Regions from separate parts of the Homo sapiens genome. Here region 2 is linked to region 1. The links are contacts of gene promoters, found by promoter capture Hi-C in human tissues and cell types (Jung and others, 2019). All regions are on one chromosome and are shown on one strand. Each heading gives the region's core, a stretch centred on a gene start or on the middle of the fragment in contact. The rest is flanking DNA. Distances are from core to core; before and after follow the strand shown. Region 1 holds the start of NOP56 (NOP56 ribonucleoprotein). Region 2 overlaps PTPRA (protein tyrosine phosphatase receptor type A).

Region 1 (3,142 bases), core at 45-2,544:
TGGAATCGTCTATTTTGATGTATTCACGACGGTTAAAATAATTTAACATGCTAATGTATGGATTAACTTGGCAATTCCATTTTAAAATATTAAATGGAATAACGATTCTGACTCGTAAGTAGACATGTGTAACAGAATTCAACCACATCTGTAAACCATATTGAAATTATGAGAGTAAGATTTACCAACCACATTTAGGTTTGACATATTAGATTTGTGAGTGAACTATGTACTTGGATTTTGTCAAGTAACTCAATCGCTTAACAAAATAACAATTAAATGTATAAATGCAGTTTATAGCTATACATTATTTTTAAAAATCCCCTTCGAATGACTCTTTAAAACATACCAGGGGATACGCTACTTAAGTATAACTAGGTTTTGGATTTATAACGTTAATATTAATTATTAAAGCAAAACTCATTTCTAAAGAGTCGCCTGAGTGCCCAAAAGACGCCCTCAAGGACAGGGAAGCAGCTGCGATTCACTCAGCGATCACCAGCGCCCAGAATTCAGGGCCGCCCAAGCGGAGGAGCAACACGTGGCCCAGCAAAAGGAGCTGGGTCCCGTGCAGCACAGCAACAAGAAACTGGCCTAGGAAGACGCTGGAGCGTCTTTCTTTCGCACGTTACTGCCTGCTACAGTCATTTAAAAAAAAAAAACCAAAAACAAAAAAAAGAAATAAATTAATAGTACGAAGAAAACTGCGCGAGCTACATTCCCAGCAGGGTCTGCGCCAGAGCGCGCCAGGCACCGCTCCCGTTACGGGTGGGAGGAAAGGATGCACCGCCCACCCGGCGCCGGGGAGGCTCGTCCCCGAGTAGGGGACGGGAACGCCTGGGTCCCGGGGACGTGGGGCGCAGGGTCTGGGGCCCGAGGCCACGGACGAAGCGGGAAGCCGGCTAGGCAGCGGTCTCTGTCTGGGATGGACGCCGCGCCCCACGCGGACCTCCCGCCCCGACTTCACCCAGCTCTGCTGCCCGTAACTCATATGACAAGAACATCAGGAACCGGACTATTACCCCGAAAGGGCCTTCCCAAGTCGTTTCGCCGCCTGCAGTGCCCGACCGGGGGCCGCGCGTCCCCGGCAACCACGCCCGCCCGCGCAGCTGCAGAGGCCGGAAAAGGCCCGCTCGCCCGCGCTCGGCACCACCCAGCCCGCGCTCCGGGCGATACCACCCTGGGCGGCCCCTCCAAAGGCCGGAGATGGTGTCGTCCCCGGCCTCCGATTGGTCGGGGGGGCGGGGGCGTGGCCTCTGGAGCCTGGTTCCGCGCGCCGGAGCGCGCTAGCCGCATTGCGAGCCGAACCCGGGAGCTGGCGCCATGGTGAGGAGTGGTTGCGGGGCGCGGGCGACGCGACGGTGGGGGTTTCGGCCTGCGTTCGGGCCGCAGACAGGGCCTGGGCCTGGGCCTGGGCCTGCGCCTGCGCCTGCGCCTGCCCTGGGAACGGGTTCCGGCAGACGCTGAGGTTGCGTTGACGCTCGCGCCCCGGCTCCCGTTCCAGGTGCTGTTGCACGTGCTGTTTGAGCACGCGGTCGGCTACGCGCTGCTGGCGCTGAAGGAAGTGGAGGAGATCAGTCTGCTGCAGCCGCAGGTGGGTGAGATCCGTGGGCTCCTTTGGCGGCCCCGCAGACCCTCATCGCGCGGGTCCCAGCATGCACAGCGCGCTCCCACGTGGCCGGCCGAGCGGTTCGGGGCGGGGGGACGGGCCTGGAAAGCTCTAGATCCGGGGGTCTTTACCTTGACCCATGGGTAGAATCGCTCTAGCAATTAGAAATAAGCCTCCCGGACGCCGCCCCCGAACGATTAAAGCAGAAGCTGGGATGTGGGGCCCAGGTATCAGCATATTTTAAGAGCTTCCAAGGCTGAGAACCGCTGCTTGACTGCGCCGCAGAGGCAGGAGGGAGGGAAGGAAACCACTTAGCCTCTTTCTCCCCCCAGGTGGAGGAGTCTGTGCTCAACCTGGGCAAATTCCACAGCATCGTTCGTCTGGTGGCCTTTTGTCCCTTTGCCTCATCCCAGGTTGCCTTGGAAAATGCCAACGCCGTGTCTGAAGGTAAGTCGGCCACCGCCAAGTGTCACAGAGAGATGTGGTTCCTTTCGGTATCCTCTCGGGCAGCTTGTGATAGTATTTGCCGTCCTTGGCTGGCTCTGAGTCTGATAGGCGTGAGGCAGTATTTGAGCCATACAATGTGTAATTTGAAATAATTGTCTTCACAGAGCTCAAGGTCTGGGAACTGTGCTAGACCAAACTGTTTAAGCAGACGATGTGGAATGTGTGTTAACGTTTCCTTGTGGGCACTGTAGTGACAAACTATTTTTTATTTTTATTTTTTTTGAGATGGAGTCTGTCCCCCAGGCTGGAGTGCAGTGGCAAGATCTGGGCTCACTGCAACCTCTGCCTCCCTGGTTCAGGCGATTCTCCTGCCTCAGCCTCCCGAGTAACTGGGATTACAGGCCTGTGCCAGCCACCACACCCGGCTAATTTTGTATTTTTGGTAGAGACGGGGTTTCACCATGTTGGCCAGGCTAGTCTCCATCTCCTGACCTCGTGATCCGCCCGCCTCGACCTCCCAAGGTGCTGAGGTTGCAGGCGCGAGCGACGGTGCCCGGCCGACAAAGGGGGGTTTCTTAAAGGGGGTCGGCTTAACACCTACTTGTGCCTGAGGTTTTGCCTAAACACAATCAAGTGTCTGGTTCTCTGCTTTCTGTTCGATTGGAAAGGGCAGTTGGGTAAACACAGGCTGAGAAAAAAAGGTTTGGTTCCAGAAGGCAAATTCTACGAAATACTCGAGGGTGTGTTACAAGCTATTATTTATTGCCCACTTGTGCTATCAGACCTGAATGCAGTTGTTCCCATGGCTGGGCCAGGCTTTGCAGTGATGACTTGCGAATCAAATCTGTCAATCCCCTGAGTGCAATCACTGATGTCTCCATGTCTCTGAGCAATGCCTGATGGGGAGGGATCTAGGTATGCCATCCCAGCGTGCTCGGTGGGACCAGGGTAGTCAGCTGAGGGATGTTAGAGTTGATCGTCCTTCAGCCTGTTAGTGGGAACTGTGTTCTTTCCCCTGAGGGGTTGTTCATGAGGACCTCCGCCTGCTCTTGGAGACCCACCTGCCGTCCAAAAAGAAGAAAGTAC
Region 2 (3,481 bases), core at 674-3,173, 370 kb after region 1:
CCCTGTATTTGGTAGTCAAACAACTCACCCTGGTTCCAGAACAGCCTGAAAGAGACTGACTTGGGCCATCAGCTAAGGAAAAGCCACAGAGGGGTTTTTTTTGTTGTTGTTTTGTTTTGTTTTGTTTTGTTTTTTTATTGATCATTCTTGGGTGTTTCTCATAGAGGGGGATTTGGCAGGGTCACAGGACAATAGTGGAGGGAAGGTCAGCAGATAAACAAGTGAACAAAGGTCTCTGGTTTTCCTAGGCAGAGGACCCTGCGGCCTTCTGCAGTGTTTGTGTCCCTGGGTACTTGAGATTAGGGAGTGGTGATGACTCTTAACGAGCCTGCTGCCTTCAAGCATCTGTTTAACAAAGCACATCTTGCACCGCCCTTAATCCATTCAACCCTGAGTGGATACAGCACATGTTTCAGAGAGCACAGGGTTGGGGGTAAGGTCACAGATCTACAGGATCCCAAGGCAGAAGATTTTTTCTTAGTATAGAACAAAATGAAAAGTCTCCCATGTCTACTTCTTTCCACACAGACACGGCAACCATCCGATTTCTCAATCTTTTCCCCACCTTTCCCCCCTTTCTATTCCACAAAACCGCCATTGTCATCATGGCCCGTTCTCAATGAGCTGCTGGGCACACCTCCCAGACGGGGTGGTGGCCGGGCAGAGGGGCTCCTCACTTCCCAGTAGGGGCGGCCGGGCAGAGGCGCCCCTCACCTCCCGGACAGGGCGGCTGGCCGGGCGGGGGGCTGATCCCCCCACCTCCCTCCCGGACGGGGTGGCTGGCCGGGCAGAGGGGCTCCTCACTTCCCAGTAGGGGCGGCCGGGCAGAGGCGCCCCTCACCTCCCGGACGGGGCGGCTGGCCGGGCAGGGGGCTGATCCCCCAACCTCCCTCCCGGACAGGGCAGCTGGCCGGGCGGGGGGGCTGACCCCCCCACCTCCCGGACGGGGCGGCTGGCCGGGCAGAGGGGCTCCTCACTTCCCAGTAGGGGCGGCCGGGCAGAGGCGCCCCTCACCTCCTGGACGGGGCGGCTGGCCGGGCGGGGGGCTGATCCCCCAACCTCCCTCCCGGACGGGGCGGCCGGCCGGGCGTGGGGCTGACCCCCCCACCTCCCTCCCGGACGGGGCGGCTGGCCGGGCGGGGGGCTGACCCCCCCACCTCCCTCCCGGACGAGGTGGCTGCCGGGCAGAGACGCTCCTCACTTCCCAGACGGGGTGGCTGCTGGGCGGAGGGGCTCCTCACTTCTCAGACCGGGCGGCTGCTGGGCGGAGGGGCTCCTCACTTCTCAGACGGGGCGGTTGCCAGGCAGAGGGTCTCCTCACTTCTCAGACGGGGCGGCCAGGCAGAGATGCTCCTCACATCCCGGACGGGGCGGCAGGGCAGAGGTGCTCCCCACATCTCAGACGATGGGCGGCCGGGCAGAGACGCTCCTCACTTCCTAGATGGGATGGCGGCCGGGCAGAGACTCTCCTCACTTTCCAGACTGGGCAGCCAGGCAGAGGGGCTCCTCACATCCCAGACGATGGGCGGCCGGGCAGAGACGCTCCTCACTTCCCAGACGGGGTGGCGGCTGGGCAGAGGCTGCAATCTCGGCGCTTTGGGAGGCCAAAGCAGGCTGCTGGGAGGTGGAGGTTGTAGCGAGCCAAGATCACGCCACTGCACTCCAGCCTGGGCACCATTGAGCACTGAGTGAACGAGACTCCGTCTGCAATCCCGGCACCTCGGGAGGCCGAGGCTGGCAGATCACTTGCGGTTAGGAGCTGGAGACCAGCCCGGCCAACACAGCGAAACCCCGTCTCCACCAAAAAAATACGAAAACCAGTCAGGCGTGGCGGCGCGCGCCTGCAATCGCAGGCACTCGGCAGGCTGAGGCAGGAGAATCAGGCAGGGAGGTTGCAGTGAGCCGAGATGGCAGCAGTACCGTCCAGCTTCGGCTCGGCATCGGAGGGAGACCGTGGAAAGAGAGGGAGAGGGAGACCGTGGGGAGAGGGAGAGGGAGAGCTGTTTTGTTTTGTTTTTTGAGACGGAGTCTCGCTCTGTCGCCCAGGCTGAAGGGCAGTGGTGCCATCTCGGCTCACTGCAAGCTCCGCCTCCCGGGTTCACACCATTCTTCTGCCTCAGCCTCCCGAGTACCACCCGCCACCACGCCCAGCTAATTTTTTGTGTTTTTTTTAGTAGAGACGGGGTTTCACTGTGTTAGGCAGGATGGTCTCGATCTCCTGACCTCGTGATCCACCCACCTCGGCCTCCCAAAGTGCTGGGATTATAGGCGTGAGCCACCACGCCCGGCCCACAGAGGAGCTTTTTTCCCCTGGTTTCTCTAGTTCCTTATTTCCCTGGTTTTCTGCCCCACCTGCTGAGGCCTTTGGTATATCCTGGATCAGCAGAGGGAGCTTTATGAACTGAGACCCTGCAAGCCAAAGGGAATTTGAGGCCTTGGCCTAATCCTGGAGGCAGCCTCCTAACTGGGCCTTTTCCTTTTGTGGCTACCAAGTGCATGCCTGGCCTAACCAGCTCTATCACTGGGCCACAGCCAGAGCCAATTCTGGGTCCTGGGGTCGAGCCCCAGCGAGGAATACCTATTTGTTACCGTGTTTCTCAAGGATGGCCCTTGAGTCACCTTGATCCTAGGGTATCGGGTGTCATGATCAACAGCTCCACAGTGGCATGGGAAGACAGTGCTAGGGCTGGGCTTTAGGTTAGTTTCCTCCAACCAAACCTCTTGCTCTTGGAAGCTATCCAAAGCTCAGGCAACAGAAAAAGCTCTAGGCCTCTCATGGCAGGTTTACAGTCTGCATCAGTCTACCCTGGTGGCCCCCTCATAGCAGACTGCTGGTTCGAGGGGTTCAAACAGGCTTTCTCCTAGAGCATGACCTGAAATGTTGTGAAAGTGCAGATTTTGTAGGTAAGATGGCTTCAGATTCGCCCTGAACCAAGGGAGTGTGGGTGGGAAACATTGAGAAGTATGGGGCTAGGGCTGTGTGTAAGTTAGGAGACTGTGCTCAATAGGATGGCGGCTAAGGAACTTGAGAAAAGGGCAAATTTGAATAAGTAAGTGTGCAACTGACTGAGATAGAGAAGAGGTCAAAGGGCCTTCTGGGGGACTTTAATCTGGGCTTTGTGGGCTCTTCCTTCCAGGCCCTTTGCATCTGCCATGGGCAGGAGGTCTAAGGTCAGGGAATGTATGTCTTTTTCTTTCCAGTGCAAGTGCGCCCAGTACTGGCCAGACCAAGGCTGCTGGACCTATGGGAATATTCGGGTGTCTGTAGAGGATGTGACTGTCCTGGTGGACTACACAGTACGGAAGTTCTGCATCCAGCAGGTAGTGTCTCCTCTGTCCTTTCTCAGTTCTTATGTTGGATCTGCTGACCAGTAAGAGGGAACAGGCTGGATCATCCCGCTGTGGTCAGGAGTTGCTGAGTATGCAGTATGTGAATTCTGAAACCAGATATCCGGGCTCAGGGGAACTTGTCTGTCAAAGC

What was found. Contacts are between HindIII fragments. The study calls those that stand out against the background at their distance.
Region 2: a fragment that was not itself captured here is called in contact with the fragment with the promoter of NOP56 in region 1 in 1 of the 25 tissues and cell types used here (IMR-90 fibroblasts).

Annotation. Positions count from the first base shown.
Region 1 is chr20:2,651,338-2,654,479 of GRCh38, forward strand. NOP56 (NOP56 ribonucleoprotein) reads left to right here and starts at 1,295. Exons shown (of 12, transcript NM_006392.4): 1 at 1,295-1,326; 2 at 1,505-1,594; 3 at 1,942-2,056; 4 at 3,077-3,142. The coding sequence starts at 1,324. It overlaps MIR1292 (microRNA 1292), which reads left to right and starts at 1,440; the gene lies at 1,440-1,505. LOC105372505 (a long non-coding RNA gene) reads right to left here and starts at 1,127. Exons shown (of 5, transcript XR_007067502.1): 1 at 1,023-1,127. SNORD110 (small nucleolar RNA, C/D box 110) reads left to right here and starts at 2,875; the gene lies at 2,875-2,949. RefSeq lists a silencer at 779-1,418 and an enhancer at 1,919-2,008. The HindIII fragment of the contact is 12,812 bases long and covers 1-3,142 here.
Region 2 is chr20:3,018,108-3,021,588 of GRCh38, forward strand. It overlaps PTPRA (protein tyrosine phosphatase receptor type A), which reads left to right. Exons shown (of 24, transcript NM_001385305.1): 14 at 3,202-3,321. Among named protein-coding and RNA genes, the nearest start is that of GNRH2, 24 kb to the right of the region's middle. The HindIII fragment of the contact is 8,052 bases long and covers 1-3,481 here.